2 separate regions of the Homo sapiens genome follow, and region 1 is linked to region 2. The links are contacts of gene promoters, found by promoter capture Hi-C in blood cells and fetal thymus (Javierre and others, 2016). All regions are on one chromosome and are shown on one strand. Each heading gives the region's core, a stretch centred on a gene start or on the middle of the fragment in contact. The rest is flanking DNA. Distances are from core to core; before and after follow the strand shown. Region 1 overlaps ACTR3-AS1 (ACTR3 antisense RNA 1). Region 2 holds the start of ZC3H6 (zinc finger CCCH-type containing 6).

Region 1 (5,931 bases), core at 3,332-5,831, 1.6 Mb after region 2:
CAAACAAACCAATAAGTAAATAAGACATTTCCCCCAGATAATTAATACTTGGTGACGGGGGAAGACAGTGAGACAGGCTACTTTACACTGGCAGGTCAGGAAAGGCTTCTCTGAGGAGGCAAGTGATTCAGGATTAATTGATGACTGGTGGAGAAGTCCGGGGAGTGGACACAGGTGGGAACAGCCTGGTGGGTGTGAACAGCAACAAGAAGGTTAATGTGGCTTCATGGAACAGGGTGAAGATGAGACAAGCTGAACACTGAGGTGGGCACCAGAACATGGAGGGCTTTGTAGGTCCCAATAAGGAGTATGGATTTTATTGTATACTGGAGATTTGTCATCCATCTAGAATCTGTTTTTATATATAAGAAAAGGTGTATATGTTTGCGCAAGTGTGTGTGTGTGTGTTTGGGGGGGCGGGGTGGGGGCAGACAGGGCGTAACTTTTCTTTAAATTAGAGTCAAAATTTAATTAAACTATTCATTCTTTACAGGCAGTGAGGGGATTAGGATCTTATCCCACAGAATCTCACCTCATTTCAAATGTTGTACAGATATTATCTGAGATATATTTTCAGGCCGGGTGCGGTGGCTCACGCCTGTAATCTCAGCACTTTGGGAAGCCGAGGCGGGTGGATCATTTGAGGTCAGGAGTTCAAGACCATCCTGGCCAACATGGTGAAACCCCATCTCTACTAAAAATACAAAAATTAGCCGGGTGTGGTGGTACACGTCTATAATCCCAGCTACTTGAGAGGCTGAGGCAGGAGAATCGCTTGAATCCAGGAGGTGGAGCTTGCAGTGAGCCGAGAAAACGCCACTGCACTCCAGCCTGGGCGACAGGGCAAGACTCTGTCTCAAAAAAAAAAACGAAAAAAGAAATATATTTTCAATGAAATCAAGCATATAATGACTATTTTTATCCCAGCATCTTGGCTTCTTCAGGCTGCTATAACAAAGCATCCCTAGTGGAGCATCCCTAATCTGAAAATCCAAAATCCAAAACGTTCCAAAATCTGAAACCTTCTGAACACTGACATGACACCACAAATGGAAAATTCTACATGTAAATACACGTAAATACAAACTTTGTTTCATGCACAAATTAAAAATATTGTATAAAATTACCTTCAGGCTATGCATATAAGGCATATATGAAATATAAATGAATTTTGTGTTTACCCATGGGTCTCATCCCCAAGATGTTTCATTTTGTATATGTGCATACTCCCAAATCTGAAAAAATCCAAAATCTTAAATATCTGTAGTCCTAAGCATTTTAGATAAGGGATATTCAATCCCTTATCCATAAACAATTTATTTATAAACAACACAAATTTAGGCTTTGTAAAAAATAGAAATTTGGCCGGGTGTGGTGGCTCACGCTTGTAATCCCAGCACTTTGGGAGGCCGAGGCAGGCACATCACTTGAGCTCAGGAGTTTGAGACCAGCCTGGTCAACATGGTGAAACCTTGTCTCTACCAAAAATACAAAAATTAGCAGGGCTTCGTGGCATGCGCCTGTTGTCCCAGCTACTCGGGAGGCTGAGGCAGGAGAATTGCTTGAACCCGGAAGGCAGAGGTTGCAGTGAGCCAAGATTGAGCCACTGCACTCCAGCCTGGGGGACAAGTGAGACTCCACCTCAAAAAACAAACAATCAAACACAATATAAATTTATTTCTCATAGTTCTGCAAGCTGAGAAGTCCAAGATCAAGATGTGAGCAGATCCACCTTTGGTGAAGGGCTGCTTTCCATTTGATAGATGGCTGTCTTCTTGTGTCCTCACATGGTGGAAAGGGTGAGGCAGTTTTTTGAGGTCTCTTTTAAAAGAGAACTAATCCCATTCATGTGGGGGTCTGCCCTCATGACCTAATCACTTTCCAAAGGCCCCACTTCCTAATACCATCACCCTGGGGGTTAAATTTTCAACACACAAATTGGTTGGAGAGTGAGCGAACATAGACATTCAGTCTATAGCCCCCAGGGATGTAGCCACTGAATAAAATAATCTAGAACTTCATCTAGAGGCAGTTTATAAGTCACATAAGAAAACCAGTTTTACTTATAGTCACATAAAACTTTTGATAAAAAACAACCCTAGTTGATAAGCCATTTGTTTACTGGACTTGGCTCTGAAGAAATGACTTTTGGCTAATCCTCAAAATGAAATCTACTCACAGAGGGCAAGATCTGCCACCAGTGAAGATGTTTAAAACAATGTGCTGTAGGCTTTGAAGGCAAGTCTAAAGAAGAGCTTCTAAAAATATTTTGCACAATGGTAGCATTAAAAGAGTAGGCACATGGGCCCCAAGATAACATCTGTGAAGAGGAGGACCAGTGTGTGTTTCCTTTTGTATGTTTAAGTACTAAGTCAGTGATTACTTTATAATTAAACCATATTCCTCTTGATCTGTCCATAATAAGGTCACTCTGTAATTTATAATAGGCTTCTTACCAAATTCAAGCTTTACAACAACCCTATAGGTTAAATATTCCTGTGAATTTTATAGATGAAGAAACAGAGTAAGTGAAAGAGTTCATACTCAATTCAAGTCTCTTGAGTCTAAAATCAGTGCTCTCTCTACATAAGAAGTTAGTTGCTAAGATCACACAACTTGAGAAGAGAGAAGACAGTTTTCACAGTCCCTCCCCTCTGACCACTAGGCTGCTTGGGGTACTTTTACAACTTACCTGCTCTGAATTAAGGCTCTCTGTGAATCTGATTCATCTGCCAATTTGCAAACAGTCAGCCCTGTAGTACGTACCTAAGTTGATTTTTAAAATACTATTTCTCATCTTAAAATAATGGAAATTGAGTGACATAAATTTCCTGGACACTTTTTAAGATCCAAAGACAATTTGCTAATTTGTCGTTACAATTAAAGAGCCCCCCAAAAGGCGTAAGAACTGGATTTTGACTTGGACTTCTGTTCCTTAGTTTCTTTAACATATTGGGGGCCGGGAGTGGTGGCTCACACCTGTAATCCCAGCACTTTGGGAGGCCGAGGCGGGCAGATCACGAGGTCAGGAGATTGAGACCATCCTGGCTAACACAGTGAAACCCCGTCTCTACAAAAAATACAAAAAAAAAAAAAAAAAATTAGCCGGGTATGGTGGCGGGCGCCTGTAGTCCCAGCTACTCAGGAGGCTGAGGTAGGAGAATGGCATGAACCCAGGAGGCAGAGCTTGCAGTGAGCCGAGATCGCACTACACTGCACTCCAGCCTGGGCGACAGAGCAAGATTCCATCTCAAAAAAAAAAAGAAAAAGATATTGGGAAAACTCACTTAAACTCTATGGGCTTCTGTACCACTAAGGCTTCTCAAATTTGATGCAAGTAATGGGAACTTGCTGTGGCTAACTTGAGCCACAGGAGAAGGATACTGCAAGACTCACAAATGCTTGAAAGTTTCGGAACAGGTTTGGAAATGGGTAAGAACCAAGGACCGGGTTGACCTGAACTGAAAGGAAATTGAGGTGCTATTAGGGACAAATATGAAATGAAGGATGAACTGTCTCTGACATCCTTTGCTTCTGTGTTTGGAGATGAGTAAGCAGGGAGTGGGTGCATATGCAAACAGGGTGGTCAGAAATGCTTTGGCCGGATGTGTGACTGAAGGCTATGTGCAGCTGAGGAAGGCTGGGCCACCACAGTAGCAGAGAGGCTGACCAATTTGGCATGCAGCAAGCAGGAAGTAGAAGGGATCTTAAGCAAGCAAAGTGTTTGGGTAGACAAGATTATGAGGAATGAGCACCAATGACATTTCCAACAAGCACTGAAAGCTTCCAAATGCTTCTAACAGTTACTGCCTGTACAAACACAGGACAGTCTTGACTATGTGAGACTGTGACAGTTTCCTCATGCCTATGAAATGAGAGACAGTACTTAGCACTGACATGAGCTTCATATTTGAAGGCAGCAAACTACTGAACCACATGTAGCTTCCGAAATCAAAAGATGCAAACTGGCAGACCACAGGTCAGATATGACATGCAGAAAAAAATTAGTTACTATCTTAGCCTAGTTTGTGCTGCTTACAGAATATCAGAGACTGGGTACTTTATAGAGAACACAAATTATTTTTCATAGTTTTAGAGGCTGGGAAGTCCAAGATCAAAGGGCCATCATCTCGTGAAGGCGTCCCTGCTGTGTCAAAACATGGTGGAAGGCATCACATGGGCAAAAGAGAGAGAGGGAAGCGGGGGCAAACTCCTTTTTATCAGGCACCCAGTCCTGTGATTCATTCATGAAGACAGTGTCCTCCTGGCCTAATCACCTCTTAAAGCTCCCACCTCTCAGCACTGTTGCACTGGAAATTATATTTCTCACACATGAACTTTGGGGAACACATTCAAACCATTACAGTTACCAAAGATAAAAATGCAGATTTCAGATTTCTCTTGGGGAAGAAAAAAGGCTCTGGCAATACCAGGGCTGTATTTCCACATGGCAACAGTTGTCTGTTGCCTTCTGTTGGGTTGTGGGCTCTCACATTGCCATACCCTCCTCATGGCCCCCTTCACTCATAACAGTACCTGCCTAGACCTCGAAGCACTAGTTTCCAACCCTGCTTGAGTTAACTACTTCCATGACAACTGTGCAAGGCCAGAGTGTGGGCAGCTACCTTGAGGGCCACCGGCATGGGCTGCCCAAGTGACCGAGGGCACTAACCTCTGCTCTCGAAACTTCTTTGGTAGGATCTCTTCACTCCTGACTTACTACTTGTAACTGCTGGAAACAACCATTTATTCTACCCCTACTAAACCACATCTGTCTTTTCTGTCAGAGCCAATCTTCAAGCATATGCTTCCTCAAAAGACTTTAATTACCAGGTAGTAGAAGCGGCAGCAAAGAGTCCCCATCTAGCATCTTCTAAAATGTAGTGGAGAAACCAACGACAACGAATCTGAGACAACCAGTTGTTTGACTTCTCTGAAAACAACCTCTAAAAAAAGCCTTCTCTCGTGAATAGCTGCAGACATGCTGGGCACTAATTGATGATGATGCCCTTTAGTGAGTCTCCTCTGCACATACCTGATTCCATTTGGATGCTGGCCCTCACATACTTCTATCTGCGAACTCCGGAACACAGAATATCATACAATGTATGATTCAATCTGGACTCTGCTGGAGCCATTCTCTACAAAGCAGACACAACTTTTTCTTGCCTAAATCCTTTCAAGTTGCTTTATTTTTATTTTTAAACTAATTACCATAAATCTAATTTATCAAGCTGCTTTTAAGATAAACTTTAAAATGCTTAGAGCAGTCTACAAATTCTTGCACTGTTTCACTCTTCCTTATCTCTCAGTCTTCATCTCCCATTGCATCTTCTCTGACTCTTTCATATGGATCTTCTTTCAATTTGTGGAAGAAGCCAAGCTTGTTCCTGCCTCAGGTCCTTGACACTTGCTGTTCACTCTCCTGGGAGACTCTTCCCCCCATCTTAGCTTTTAAATACCAGCTGGTCAGACTCCTTACCTGCCTTCCACCTTCCTCTCATTCTCCCACTCCTCGCCTTCATTTCTCAGAGTCCTCCGCTCTCTTCTTTCTATTGCTCTTAACACAATTTGTCTGTTTTCCGCTAATCTGTAAACTCTACAAGAGCACTTAACTATTTTGCATCCCACCGAATATTCGGAGTCAGCACAGACCCCGTCATAATAGAGTAGGTAAGCAATGCTTACCTGTCAAATGAATGAATGAAACACCCGATTCATCCCCCAAGCCAGCTTAATACATTAGATGATCTTATGGACTGAATAAGACATCCCTCCTTTTAAAGAATATTTTTGTTTTAGCTTCACATCAGCAAACCCCGAACGGTTCATCCTAAGATAAGCCTGGTAGAGAGGAAAGATACTAACCTTCTAGGGTCCTAAAGTGGAACTAGGAACTTATTAGATATGCACATTCTCAGGCATTATTTC
Region 2 (5,927 bases), core at 1-2,500:
TCATTGCAATTGTTTTTGAATGCATTCCATTTATGTATTAGTAAAATGTATTATTAAGGAAAGACAAATTAAGTCAGATATTTGGATTAATCATTGAGTCTATCATTTTAGTAAAAAGCAAGGAACTTTCCTTCAGGACTAATATATTAAATAGGCCAAAACACTGACTTGTCATTTAAAAATTTTTTAAGGTCACTTCATAAGTATAAAAAACTCATGCATGGTCGGGCGCGGTGGCTCACGGCTGTAACCCCAGCACTTTGGGAGACCCAGGAGGGCGGATCACCTGAAGTCAGGAGTTCGAGACCAGCCTGGCCAAAATGGGGAAACCCCATCTCTACTAAAAATACAAAAATTAGCCAGGCGTGGTGGCGCGTGCCTGCAGTCCCAGCTACTCGGGAGGCTGAGGCAGGAAAATTGCTTGAACCCAGGAGGCAGAGGTTGCAGTGAGCCGAGAGCGCGACACTGCACTCCAGCCTGGGCGACAGAGGAGACTCCATCTCAGAAAAAAAAAAAAAAAAAAAAAAAAAAAAAAAAAAAAAAGGCATGCCTAATAGTATTTATAAAATACTCGCATACATTTTACATGTTAATATTATTACGAAATAAAGTAACGTTTATATAATTATTTCAATAGCTATTCCTATTTAAGTAATAATTGGGTAAATTTAACAGCAAATACAAGAAAAAACTGCATGGCAAGCTATTTTCCTTAAAACATGATTCTGAACACTAAACGTTACAAAAACAGATACTTGCTACAACTGTGAAGGAGAAACTGCATTTCCCTATTATTACAAGAACAAAGGTTTTCACAAAAAAATTTAAGGACTCTACAGCCGCCTTGTTCTTTGTTATCCCACCCCTGCCCGCCTCGGCTAACGGTTTTGGGGCCCGTTTGCTTGGTGCGTCTGGAACTCCTCGGGCGGCGGGCGTCTCGCAGGAAAAACCGCGGCCCGTACTGCGCCGGGAGCAGAAGCGCTGGTGGCCCTCGTAGGTCCCGTGGGCTGCCTCCCCCTCCTGCAGACACTCGAGGAGCCATCCGGCCGCGTCTCTCGCCGCCCGGCCCCGCCACTAGGCTGCCGCCTCCGCCGCTGCACAGAGAAGGGCGAAGACCCGCCCCTGCAGGTGATTGACGGGCACTCTCCTCCAATGGTCAACGCGCTCGGCCCCGGCGGGCTGGGCAAGGGCCGCGGCTCGCGGAGGAATCTCTCTTGCCCTTTAGTCCCGGGCAAGGTGTTGCGGCCGGCGCCATTTTCTCGAGCCGCCTGTTTCGGGTGCCGCCATGTTGGTGAGGAGAAATCACCGTTACGGCCACTGTCCAAATCCCCGCGTCGCTGCACGCCGCCCGCCCGCTCCCACGCCACAGCCACCGGCGGCGAATAGAGACTAGAGCGGCAGCGCCGGCAGCGCGGGGCCGTTGCCCAGTGTTTGCAGTTAGAGCCCCATCTCTCTGGCGTGGTTGTTAATAGACTGGAAAGTCTGTGTCTGTGTCGCTCACTAGTAACCGTGAGTTTTTACCACTTCGTCACCTGTCGGCGGCGGCCGGGAGCAGGTTCCCGCAGGCGGCGCGGGGGGTCTTCCCCGCGCCCCGCCGCCGCCGGCCTCGCAGACCTGCCCTCCAGCCCCGCCCCGTTCTTGACCAAACATGACAGACTCTGAACATGCAGGGCACGACAGGTCGGGAACCCTTCTTGTCTGTCTTTCTGTCGGATGAGAGGAGGGGTCTGGGGCGGCGGGAGCGGGCCGGGGCCGGGCGCCTCCTGCATGACCTAGACGTCTCTGTGTGGCTCCGTCAGTTCCATGACGCGCACTCTTATGTAAACTGCTGGATCGCGGCCGCGGGGGAGGTCGGCCCGGCCGCGCCCGCCTCCCCGAGCCGGGGTCGCTGCTCGCCAGCGCCGGCCCCGCCCCCGGCCGGGCACGTGCGAGCCCCCCGCCCCCCGGGCGGGCTCCGTGTGCGCCGGGCGGCTCTCAGCGTCCCGGCTCGGTGCTGAGGTCCTGCTTCTGCCCGTCCAGGTGTCGGTGCTCCCGGCCAGATAGGACCAGCCAGGAATTTTCAGGAATGGGTGTTTTGATATTTGACTGCTTCCCGAGAACCGAGAACACCTCTAAAAAAATAAACATTTGGTTTTCAGGGAAGTTTTAAGCAGCACCAAAAGGCCATCTGTTGTATACAGTCTTATCCCTTGGAATTTGAGATGGCAAGTTTCAAGTTTAATATGTTAACACAAAATACTTAGGCTTTGCAGAAACTTAGTTTAGCACAGTTTTACCCTAACGTAAAAACTCCATGGATTATTCCGGCTAGCCCAATTTTCTAGATGGTGTGTATCACTTGAATATTGAGATTCTGATTTTTTATTTTTTGCTCTGTGCCTTAAGAGGCACATTCTTGTTTCCATTCGAGTTTGGGGACATTTACAAAGTATACTGTAGCATACTTAAATTTTGGTTATAATTCAAATTTTCATTCGTATATATCTTTAATAATGCGAAAGGGGGGCTTTCATTCATTAAACTTACTGAAACAAAATCCATTGCATCTGATTCTTACTTAGAATATTAATTTGAAAATCTAGAACCTCACAATTACTCCTTTGTGAATAGAAGTAAGAAAAAATATACGTTTTACTATAGACTATATACATTGCTGAAGTTTTATCTGTAGTAATGTGATCGGCTTGGTAAAGCATCCTAAACACGTTTTTTAAAACCCAGAAGCAAAAATCACAAACACTGCTGAAATTTGAAATATCTAAATACCTAGCAATCTTGAGAGGGATAAAAATGGTATTTCAACAACTTCAGTATTGTAATAATAAAAGTAGATTCCCAGAGGGCACGTCAATCAAAGTGTAAAAATTTTTGGAAAGTAAAATGCACTTTTAAAAATGATAAGCTTGCACTTGGCACATTTTTAATGATTTTTTTAACGTTATCTTTTGTATTAAAAAGGAAATTCTTAGAATGGGTTGACTAATACCTTGCTCTTGAGGTATGGACAAACCAATGATGGGGTTTTGCTAATGGAGCCTAAAATCCTTTTTTTTTTTAATATGGAAGAATATCTGTTCCCCTCTCTTAGTGCACAAAGTAACTTCTATATATGGAGTTATGTATTGTACATCATGAAAAAACAATGCCATCAAATTCAAGTATCAAAATAATTTTGCTGGTAAGGAACTGTGATGACAGACCTTTTAAAGAATTTGAAATTTTAAAATACTGGTTTAGAGGTTAGAAAACTTTAAAGAATTATTTGTAAGATATGTTAATAGGTTGGTAGTAGGAGCTAAAGATTAAGATTAGTCTATTTTATTTAAAATTCGGACTAAAAGTATTTTCTAGTGATTTCTGAAACAAAAAGGTTAGCTCCACTTTAACTTAGCCAATTGTTAAGTGGCATCATTGTGCTGAGATGAAGGAGATGGTTTTTTTTTTTCATGCTTTTTTTGTCAACCCACATGAAAAACAAAACAACTACATCAAAAACAAAGTGAACTAGAAGTCAGGAGAAATTCTACAAGATCAGATCAATGGTTCTAAACCTTCCCTGGGGAACTTTTTTTCTTTAAAGTATTGGCGCTATTTCTGTTGGTCTGGACCTCAGCCTGGGTTTTAAGAGTTCTAAAAGCTCCCCAGGAAATTCTAATATGTGCCAAATTGAGAACCGCTATACTCGATCAGTGTTTCCCAATGATAGTTAATCATCAGAATCACTTTGGGGAATAAATTTTTGTTCTGCCCAGAGCAACTGAATCAGAATCTCTAGGGTATTTTTCATAGGCTCCCTGGGAAATTCTTAAGAAATTTGGGGAAAAAATGGACTAATCTGCGGGCTTCCAAAATACTGTATCTTTCCATATAATAGCTATTTTATGCTGTTATAAAAGTTTCTGTGAATTAAGTGGAGAAAAATATATGAAACTTGGTATATGGAGCTAGGCTTTGTCTCAAGGATTTTATTTTATTTATTTTATTTTTTTGAGACGGAGTCTCGCTCTGTCGCCCAGGCTGGAGTGCAGTGGCACTGTCTCAGCTCACTGCAAGCTCCACTTCCCGCCTTCACACCATTCTCCTGCCTCAGCCTCCTGAGTAGCTGGGATTACAGGCACCCGCCACCACACCTGGCTAATTTTTTGTATTTTTAGTAGAGACCACGTTTCATCATGTTGGACAGGCTGGTCTTGAACTCCTGACCTCAAGTGATCCACCAGCCTTGGCCTCCCAAAGTTTTGGGATTACAGGGGTGAGCCACTGTGCCCAGCCAAGGATATTCTTTTTATAACATTTTCAAAAATTAAGGCATATTGTGTATGCAGGAAAAAAAATGAAGCCTATGATTTATATTTACAATTGCTTTGATTTTATACAAATTAAAATATTACTGTTTATGAGAATGAGATTCTAAATGTAAATGGAATTCACAGAATGCATAATTTTTTTCTCGTTTAAAGAAATAGAGTCTCGCTATATGCCTAGGCTGGTCTTGAACTCCTGGGCTCCAGCCATCCTCCCATTTCAGCCTCCCAGAGTGTTGGGATTACAGGCGTGAGCCACCACGCCTGGCCTTGTACATGTTATATAGTGAACATTTTGCACAAGATTGTTTGCCAAATGAATAATTTAAAAAAAATCCATTTAGTGTACTTTCCTTTAAATATTTTCACACCTGGAGTTAAAACATTGTATTTTATAAGATGTTATTAATATAAAAATACTTCTAATTCTACTTGTGGCTATGTAGAATGTAGTAGAGGACTTTTGCATAAGCCCAGAGCCTAGTTTCTAAAGGTCTTTAGGGATTTAGGGAAATCAGAGGGAGGTATAATTCTGGTCTCTCGTCGTTCAGTTCTTTTTCATTCAGTTCTCTCAGGCACGACTCCAGCCGCTCAGTTTTATATTTCAACTGGATGTTGACCCAATTAAAACAATTCACAACTCCTGAAGACGAAATACTATGAGTCCCTGCTTTGGACACATCTGTAGTAGAGTAGGAAAAGATAAATATAACCCAAGTAATTGTTACAGAATTTTCTGAAATATACTAATGGTAAAAGGTTTTGTAGGGCTTGTACTGGGGAAAAAGATAATTTTTTAGCATGAACCTTTTAAGAGCTTGTGAGTCTCAAAGAGTCTTTAACTGATAGGTGATATGGATAATACTCCCCTTTGGGAGGAGGTTTATAATACATAAACAACCTCCCCACCCTTCCCTCGCAGCTTTCTGTCCTGTACTACAAGAACAACAAAACTCCAACTAGTCAGAATTGCAAGTGGTTTATGGCCCCCCATATAGATTGAAAACTTGCTAAGAGACTGCACTGGAGAACCTGAAAGGATGAGGATGGAAAAGATGATTATACTTTTCATTTGCAACAGGGCTTTCATTTGATTCTCACATTAATCCCATGTGGTAGTTAATTAAGGTAGCATTACAAGGTTCAGTGAATTGTCTGAGATCTCATAAATACAACCTAGATAAGAACCCAGGTATTATTATTTTCAGTCTTGCAATATTATTTTCCTACTTGCAATATTATCTTCACTCTTCATTAAGTTTGCACAGCAAAGTAATGGAATAAGTTCTGGGCTTTAATCCTTGAGTAGTTTGGAATTGTAATGTGCTACATTTGAGAGAGAGCCCTTCATTTTGAATAAAACCTTGGTACTGATCCTGATCTTCTAACTTGGGTTAATGCTCTTCCCCTTTTCATTATTTTTTTCATTTGTGAAATGAAGTAGTTGCACTAGATCATTTTCAATTTTCCTTCCCACTTAAATCAATTTTAATTAAAAAAATTGCAGATGCCTTTTCTCAGATTAGAGTACACTTTTTGCTCCACACAATATCTGGTTTGTAAATTAGTATGTTCCGTGGAGTAAATAACTTTCCTGACTAGCCATTAACTTACTTCTGATTC

Evidence for each region. Contacts are between HindIII fragments. The CHiCAGO score rates a contact against its expected background, and 5 or more counts as called.
Region 1: a contact is called between a fragment that was not itself captured here and the fragment with the promoter of ZC3H6 in region 2, in 1 of 17 cell types (neutrophils). The highest score is 7.1, in neutrophils.

What each region holds. Positions count from the first base shown.
Region 1 is chr2:113,883,028-113,888,958 of GRCh38, forward strand. All of the region lies in intron 1 of ACTR3-AS1 (ACTR3 antisense RNA 1), which reads right to left. LOC124906071 (a long non-coding RNA gene) reads right to left here. Exons shown (of 3, transcript XR_007087205.1): 1 at 5,036-5,931. Among named protein-coding and RNA genes, the nearest start is that of ACTR3, 4.1 kb to the right of the region's middle. RefSeq lists enhancers at 3,575-3,624, 3,635-3,744. The HindIII fragment of the contact is 1,600 bases long and covers 3,782-5,381 here.
Region 2 is chr2:112,274,347-112,280,273 of GRCh38, forward strand. It overlaps ZC3H6 (zinc finger CCCH-type containing 6), which reads left to right and starts at 1,251. Exons shown (of 12, transcript NM_198581.3): 1 at 1,251-1,680. The coding sequence starts at 1,649. RefSeq lists enhancers at 953-1,525, 1,141-1,350 and a silencer at 1,541-2,020. The HindIII fragment of the contact is 12,828 bases long and covers 1-2,900 here.